Regions from separate parts of the Homo sapiens genome. Here region 1 is linked to region 2. Evidence: promoter capture Hi-C in human tissues and cell types (Jung and others, 2019). All regions are on one chromosome and are shown on one strand. Each heading gives the region's core, a stretch centred on a gene start or on the middle of the fragment in contact. The rest is flanking DNA. Distances are from core to core; before and after follow the strand shown.

Region 1 (4,552 bases), core at 1,458-3,957, 190 kb before region 2:
ATCCATGGATCTGTGGAAGACCATGGGGGCTTTGTAGAGAACAAGGGGGTCCCACTTGGACTATATGGAAAGTCTTGGTTATGCTTACCTCCCTGGTCCTCTCTGCCCCACTAGCTGAAACCTGACAGATAGGCCAGGCACAGTGGCTCACGCCTGTAATCCCAGCACTTTGGGAGGCCGAGGTGGGTGGATCACCTGAGGTCAGGAGTTTGCGACCAGCCTGGCCAACATGGTGAAACCCTGTCTCTACTAAAAATACAAGTATTAGCCAGGCATCGTGGTGGGTGCCTATAATCCCAGCTACTTGAGAGGCTGAGGCGGGAGAATTGCTTGAACCTGGGAGGCACAGGTTGCAGTGAGCCGAGACTGTGCCACTGCACTCCAGCCTGGGCAACAAGAGCAAAACTCCATCTCAAAAAAAAAAAAAAAAAAAAGAAACCTGATAGATAGGTGGAGGGACCGATGAGCTCCCTGAAGATTTTAGTGCAGGTGCTCTTATGGAGCCTGCCCCTCTGGCTCTGATTGTGAGTGGAATTGCCTAAGCCCATGCCCTGGTCAGCCGAGATGGTGTGCTCAATTATCAGTCGCTCAGCACCAGTGGAGTCCTCCCCGAGAACTCTCAGGTGATGGTCTATTTTTCTGCACCCCTATCTTGAGCAAGGCACCAGAAGTAATACAGAATGGAAACTCAAAGCTTCCAGCCCTCAACCTGTCACATGTTTACATTGTGAACACCTAAAAGTAGCAGGGGAATAAAAAGGCAGTAAGGGTGACCTTCCTTGGGCGGGATGCTGCAAATGGCTCTTCTGCTAGCCCAAGAACAGGCTGCTAGGGCTGATTTCCATAGATTCAGATTAGGTAGTCTTCCCATGCCATGGAAAAGGTACATCAAGGTGGAGTCATTCTGTTCCTTCTAAATCCAGCCGTGGTGGGCATTTTCTTTCCAATTCAGGCCTTGGGGCCAAGTAGATGAAAGTAGTGCCTGACAGTGGAGGCCAAGTCTGGAATGATTGTCACAGATTTGGGGGTCACAGCAAAGCCCCTGCTGTCAGAATGTTATTTTGTGGTCCTGCAAGGGTTCACACTTTGCTCATATAGGGCTGTCTGGTGACCAGAACAGCCCTATGGCCATTTGTGGTCTGCGGGTTCATTTATTTATTGAACAAGTATTTGTTGAGCACTTAATATTAGACAGAGTAATGGGCCCTGGGAATACAGAGAAATGGTCCCTGCCCTTATTAAGCTTATAGTCTAGTGGAGAAGGGAGACAAGTAAGCAACAAGGAACTAAATGTGTAATAACAATTTGAGTTCAAGCTGTGAAGGAAATGAACAGAATACAATGATAGACAATATAGTGTTAAATAGAGTGGACAAGGAAAGTCTCTTTAAGCAGTGACCTGTAGGGTTGGAGCAGGGTGGGTAGGGAACTAGCTGTGTTAAGAAAAGGAGATAGAGATTTTCAGACAAAGGAAAAACAGGTACAAACATCCTGAGGGGTTGAGATCTTGATGTGTTTGAGAATCTGAAAGGAGGCCAGGGTGACTGGAGAGGAAGGAGGGTGGAAGGAGAGAGGAAAGGAACAAGTTTGGAGAATTAGGCCTGACTTCGATCATTTAACTAAGATAAAGAGCTTGGATTTGGTCTGGAGTATGACAGTAAGCCACTGAAAAGTTTAAGTGATAAGGATGAAAGGGATGCCCTGTGAAACAAACTTTAAACTGGGCAGTGATTCTGTGGGGTAGGAAGAGAATTGAGAAAGAAAATCAGAAAACAATTCAACTTCTCTAAACTGTTCCTCTTGAAGACTGTGTATACATTAGAATTACAACTGACTTCGGCCAGGTGCAGTGGCTCCCGCCTGTAATCCCAGCATTTGGGAGGCCAAGGTGGACAGATCACAAGGTCAGGAGATTAAGACCATCCTGGCTAACACGGTGAAACCCTGTTTCTACTAAAAATGCAAAAAATGAGCCAGGTGTGGTGGCAGGCGCCTGTAGTCCCAGCTAATCGAGAGGCTGAGGCAGGAGAATCACTTGAACCCAGGAGACGGAGGTTGCAGTGAGCCGAGATCGCGCCACTGCACTCCAGCCTGGGTGACAGAGTGAGACTCTGTCTCAAAAAAAAAAGAAAAAAAAAAAAAATTACAACTGACTTCAAGAAAAAATTTTAAGCAGGAGCATAAGGTGATCTCAGATACGTTTTTAAAGATCACTGTGGTTGTTATAAAGAATGTGTTGTAGAGGAGCTATTTCAATGGTCACACAAGAAAAGGTGGTGTTTGCATTACTAAAGAGGCAGAGAGAAATGGACAGATTTTATGTATAATTAGGAAGTAGGAATAATAGGATTCAATATTTATTAAATACATACAGTATTTCAGGCGTGTTCTCAGTGCTGAAGATATAGCAGTGACTAAAGCAGGTAGGATCCTTGTCCTGTACACAAAGGCAGCATGGTAGACTGTGGGGTGCTGGAGCTGGCTCATGAGAGCTGATTGTCAAATTTAGAATTTTGAGAGCTGGTTGTTAAAACACAGCTATTATTAAAAATCAAACTATATAAACTTAAATACATTCTATTAAAACCAAAGATAATCAGTACTTAAAAGTAATCACTTCCTAATTATTTTACTACATTTTACTATCCCCTGTGCTCTTGTGATTATTTATATCTATCATATCTGTATGGTAGGAATATTGTATGCAGTGTGTTACTGTACATCCCTTCCCAACTCTACATTTGGTGATGTCTTGTCGGTAGCTTAAAGTTGGCCATGGTAGGAGTATTTATATCACAAAAATCTGCAAATGTTACAAATCAGTGCTTTTTCCCCCTAGAGAGCAGTTGTTAAATATTTGCCAGCGAACCCCTTGATAAGAACACACTATCCTTGTAGGAACACACCCCTAGGAGTCAGGCACCCAGGGTTTAAATCATGGCTCTGCCACTTGCTAGCAATGTGATTTGGCTAAGATACCTAATATTGGCTTCCTCATTCATAAAACGGGACTCATAGTGCTACCTTTGTCTGTTTGTGCTGCTATAACAAAATGCCCATGACTGATGATTTATAATGAACAAAAATGTATTTCTCACAGTTCTGGAGGCTGGGAAGTCCAAGATTAAGGTGCCCAGCAGGTTTGGTGTGTGGTGAGGTCCTGGTCTCTGCTTCTATGATGGCATTTTGAACGCTGCATCCTCTAGAGGAGACAAATGCTGTTCATCACGTGGCAGAAAAGCAGAGGAGAGAGAATCCACTTCTGAAAGCCCTTTTTATAGCAGCATTAATCCATTCATCGGGCAGAGCTCTCATGACCTAAACACCTCTCATGAGGCCGCACCTCCAAACACTGGCACATTGGGAATTAAGCTTCCAACACATCAATTCGGAGGGGACAGAAACATTCAAACCATAGCAAGTGCTATATACATGCTATATATATATATATATAGCACTAAGGCCCATTATAGACTGAGCAAGAGGAGGGGTCAGCTGGGATCAGCAAGCTCTTTGGCTGCCTGGAGCTTTATCCCTAAGCCTCCTACCCCTGAGGAAAGGAGACATTCAGTTCCTGCTCCCTGGAGTATACAGCCACAGACTTCAGGCCCAGCACACCTAGCACTCAGTGGGCCCAGGAGAAATGGCTAAGGTCAGAGAACTCATATCAACAGCAGAGCAGGCTGGACATAGACATAGCCATTCCAAGGGACAGTGGGTCAGTGTCCAGCTTACATCTGGCTCTTGGCAATGCAGGAGGAAGCTCTGTCATTTGCAGACATTTGCAGGTTCGTGTTCAGACCCCTTCTGGGAGAAGTAAAAAAGCTGCTGGTTAGGAGGATAGAGAAGACTACCCAGGAAAAGAGATGGTTGAATTTCTCTGGGCTCGAGTTCCCAGAGAAGCAAGAGATTGAGGTCCCCAAATCCACTCTGGGCAGCAAGGTTTGCAGAAGAAGGGAAAGAAGCATAGAAGGGTGTGTACCACTAAGGATGCACAGCCAGGGCTGAGAGGAGTGTGGGACAAAGGCTGTGGAGAGCTAGTTTCAGAGAGGAAAAACTCCTGGGCTCTGGCCTCTAGTTGAAGGGCGGGAGTGCACTGATTCCTGCGGCCTGCAGGGGGTGCTCAGGCCCAAGTACCGACAAGCTTCTTTCCTCAGCCCCAGTAGGAAGCCTGGGAAGGACCCAGGACCCACAGAAGGGGCCTCCTGTAGTGAGGGGAAGAGAAGCAAGGCTGCTGAGTCTTGACTACCCTGAGAAGTCTTGGCTTGTACCCTGTGACCAACACCAGGGTGGCCAACATATCCACAGCCCTGGGTTCCCAAATGTGTACAATGTTCTACTTTCAACTCCTGCCCAAAACTTGAACTTCAACCTGGACTGCCTGCAGTGCAGATGACTCTGCTGGCCTAGTCCCTGGGTGGAGCAGGAGGATCCAGTAATGGTTTCTAAGCCATTCTCGGGTACACAGGTGAATTAGGAAGCAACAGGGAAAAGGGACCATAAAGTAGTATTCTGGGATAGATGGATCCGGGGTGCTGTGAGGGGGACCACA
Region 2 (4,134 bases), core at 1,376-3,875:
CTGCTTGAAACTCTCTTTTTCTTGCTTTCTGGAAGGGCGTAGCTCCTGCCTTTCTGATGGTTTCATCTGAATCTCCTTCATAAATTCTCCTTTCTCTGCCTGGCTTTTAAATAATGGTCTTATGCAGAGTCTTGACCTAGGACCTATTTTCTTCTCATTCTATACAAAATTTTATGATTTTAACTATTCTCGGGGCTTCTACATCCTGTAGGCAAAGACCTTCTTCAAGTCTGTATTTCCACCTCAGACCTCTCCTGTAAGTTCCAGACCCCTGGATTCAACAGCTTACTAGGTAACCTCACCTGGATGCCCCACTAACATTTAAACTCAATGGGTTCCAAACTGAATTTATAATTCCCTCTTCCAAACCTGTTTCTGCTGTTTTGTTATCTTTCTCATTGTATACAATTGCTATAGCACCAATATCCATTCAGTTGTCCAAGTTAGAAATCTGAATGTCATCCCTTGACCTCTTCCATCCTCTCTGCTTCTAATCTGTTGATTCCATTTCCAGAAGAGGCTCTCAAATCTATCCACCTCTCTCCATCTCCCTTGCCATTACCTTAGTCTCAGCTAGCATCATCTTTCACCCAGAACAGTGTAATATAGTAACCTTGTAAAGTATCCCCCTGCCTTCCATCTTATGTCTTCCAATCCGTTCTCCACATTATAGAACTAATCCTGGTAGTACTACCGAATCTTTTAGTAGTTCCTATTGCCCTCGGGAGAAAGTCCATGTTCCATGGTCAGGCCTAGCAGGCTCTCTGCAAACCCTCTAGGCTGGTCTCCAGCCTGTTCATTATTCCCTTCTTAAGATATATGTTCTAGTCACTCAAAACTATGTCACAGTGGATAAAAGTGCCATGAATTCAAACTTTGAGCTTCTTATACATCTTGTCCTTTTATTTGGGATGCTTTCTGCCTCTTCTGCCCGTTCACTTGGCTGGCTCTCCCATATGTATATGTGTGTGTGTGTGTGTGTGTGTGTGTGTGTGTGTGTATATATATTTTTTTTTTTTTTTTTTTTTGCCAACAGGAAGCTTAGAGCCAGCCTCCCTAATTTTTTTGACTTTGTAGCTCATTTCCTCAAGAGGCCAACTTTAATTCTCAAGGAGGCTGGGCTGGGCTAGAGGTGTTCCACTTGTGTTCCCACTATCTTTTCCCTGTCAAGGCTCTTCCACTTTGTGCTGCAATCCCCTGCTTTTCTGTCTCGCCCATTAAACTTTGAGCTCTGTGAAGTAGGAATTGTGTCGGTTTTGTTCAACTTACATTCCCACTGCCTAGCACAATCTCTGGTTCAATAAATATTGGCTGAATGACAGAATCCAAGTGTGAGTGTGTAACAACTCGGCTGAGAAAGCATAGATTATTTCGTGGGGTAAATAAATACTTGGATTACAATTTATTCCAACTTTCCCTTTTTGAGTTTAGAAAAATTTCCTTCTGCTTAACATTGCTCCTTCACCTAGAATCCCACTCCTTCCTTTTCTGCCTACTCAACTTCAAGACCCAGCTCTAAGGTTCTAGCCTCTGTGAAGTTCTTTTGGTGCCCACAGTTTAGACCCTTTCATGGGACTTCCATTGTGTCTGTGATTTTTCCATTTGCTTGGTTTCTCTCTGCACTTGGCTATGGGCCATGAGGGTCCAGACTGGGTCTAGTTTGCCCTGTGCCCCCAGCACCTAGCCTAGGGCTGGAGAGAGAGCTTGGAAGATAGCTGGAGACATTACTTGCAGACAAAGAGAGAGGGCACAGAGCCTCGAAAGCTCCAACTAGGGAGGCAGAGGGGTTTGAGAAGGAGTGAAATGGAGGCAGGCAGCTCTAAGGAGCATCCCCTAGTGTCCAGCCTAATTCAGATTTGAGGATCTTTTTTGGGATGGCTGGGGGCTGGGGTGTCAGATGTGATCACAACTTCAGCTTCGCATTCAAGCTTTCCAGAGTGCTCCCTCCCTCAACCAGCCCCCTTCTTTTCCCAGTCCTGCCTTCCTTTCTTCCTTCCCTTCTCTGTTGTGGCTCTGTGAACTGGATGTAAGAGGGAAAAGGAGATCTGCAGGGTTGGCAAGAGGAGGTCCTCGCCTTCTGACTGGTGTCTAGGAGGGGCTGCGTGTTGGGGAAGGGGCTGTGCTTTGGGGTGAGCAGGGGCTCTAGGTGTATTCAGGGGACCAGGATGTGAAGGAGTTCCGACCAGGTGGTGTGAAGCTGTGATGAAGTTGTAGGCTGTGGGGGTGAAGGTGTGAGGGGAGCTGTTTGGGGGCTGAGGGAGTACTATGAGAGGCACGGTGTGGACGTTTGAGAAGGTAGTGTGGAGCTCGTTGGGGGGACTCTATTAGTGTTCTGGGGTACAGTGAGAAATAGCTTGTGGGGGGGGCTGAGGGAGGCACCCACCTCGTGTCCCGGCTCCGCGAATGCGAGGGGGCTCGCAGCTGAGGTTGCCCACACTGCTGCTGTTGAGGAGAGGCGCCCCCGGGCGGCACAGGGAAGCCCCCGGCCCGGGTCCGGTTCCCTGCACGCTCCGGTTCAGCTTTAGCAGCTCCATGGCCCCCGCCGAGCCCGCCGCCTTACTCAGCTCGACCCGGCGGGCTCCCAACGCGGCTCCACCTGCTCACGCTGCGATTCCGGCTCAGGCTCCCGCCGCCCTCCTCTCCCTGCCCCCTGCCCCGCCTGGTCCCCGCCCCCAGCCCAGGCGCCTGCCCTCCACTCTCCCGCGGCTCGCCCCGCCTGGGTTCCCGTCCCTCCGCCAGCCTCTGTCCCGCCAGGTGACTGTGCACCCCCTCCCTGGCTCGGGAGTTCTGCCCCTCCCTGTGCGACTGTCCTCCAGGCTCGCCCCCTCCCTAGATGTGTCCCGTCTCCTCTTAGAGATTTCTCTCCTGCCCACCTCTCTTTATCACCCGCCCCCACCCCCGATTCCCAGGAATGAGAGAGAGAGAGAGAGAGAGAGAGAGAGAGAGAGAGAGAGAGAGAGATTGAAGACAAGAGTATTGGCAGCGTAGGGGGAGGTTTCGGGGAAGGGAGGGTAGGAGGGGTTGGGTAGAGACGGCTGCCACGGATCCAGCATCTTTCTCTGGTGTATCAGGGAACGTGGAGGTGGCGTTGGAGACCAGGTCTGCGTGCGTCACCTGCTGAGGCGCGGATGCTTTAGTCTGAGCCTAGAGCCGCATTTACCGTACTGTGTTGCAGTGGCCGCAGTGACCGTGACACTATTGCTACCGTAGTTCCCTGCAGCTCCTCGCTGCGGGCCTGGGGTAGCTCCTGCATCTGTCTCCGCACCCTCCATCTCCTGTCTGAGGCTTAACACTCAGGCTTGCACTTAAGGGTCCCAAGGAGCCCTCCACAGCTGGGCGGGAGTGGGGGTGGGGCCGGGGCCGAGATTTGGCTCCAGGGAAGCCTTGCCAGGGAAAAGGGCTCCCGGGAGGAAGCTTCTGACTTGAGTGTTGAGGGCAGTTGGGGGTGGTGGCAAGCACTGACAAGGATAAACCAGAGTAAGGTGAGGATGGGATATAATTCTAACGCCGGCCCAGCGCAGGCAAAAGAGAAGGAGAAGGTTGGCTTTCTCCACCGTCTCCAGGCAGCGCCCACGCCCACCCGACACGCTAACGCTCCCTGTTTGCTCTCAGTGCAGGCAGAGCTGCCTGTGTAGGGTGTCAGGTTCCCACGAGAGGGGGCTAGAAGGGGACTGGGTCACTGCGGTGCAGCGGGAACAGGGCTGAAGGGTGCAGGACTGAACTGGGTTCAGCTTCTCGGGGCAGGATTTGCCTCTTCTACTATTTCAGCCCTGCTCCCTATGCATTCTCCTATCCATTCCTTTTCTTCCCCAGATTCCTATCTCCAGATTCCTATCTCCAGATTCCTATCCATTCTTCAGATTCCGGATGAACTCCAATACGATGTGAAATTCTTCTGACCCCCAGCAGTAGCTGTAAGAGGTTGGGGGCGGGCATCAGTGGAAGAGCAAATTAGAGAATGGAGTCTGGCTTTATGGGGGATTCAGCAGGCCCTTATCCAATTAATCTTTTGGAGAGGACCTGGTTCAGCCAGCCCTGAGTTTATAGGGGCTGAAGCATTGAAAGAGAGTTGAAAGACAGTTTATGCCTGAGATGTCATCAACTGCTCCCCCTTTCCTTCCTCCTGGTACTGCC

What was found. The method cuts DNA at HindIII sites, captures the fragments that hold promoters and counts their contacts. A contact is called where the count stands out against the background at its distance.
Region 1: a contact is called between a fragment that was not itself captured here and the fragment with the promoter of CCKBR in region 2, in 1 of the 25 tissues and cell types used here (spleen).

What each region holds. Positions count from the first base shown.
Region 1 is chr11:6,443,160-6,447,711 of GRCh38, reverse strand. No RefSeq gene overlaps it. Among named protein-coding and RNA genes, the nearest start is that of HPX, 4.4 kb to the right of the region's middle. RefSeq lists an enhancer at 4,288-4,357. The HindIII fragment of the contact is 3,476 bases long and covers 970-4,445 here.
Region 2 is chr11:6,258,329-6,262,462 of GRCh38, reverse strand. CCKBR (cholecystokinin B receptor) reads right to left here and starts at 2,625. Exons shown (of 5, transcript NM_176875.4): 1 at 2,384-2,625. The coding sequence starts at 2,534. The HindIII fragment of the contact is 2,957 bases long and covers 1,485-4,134 here.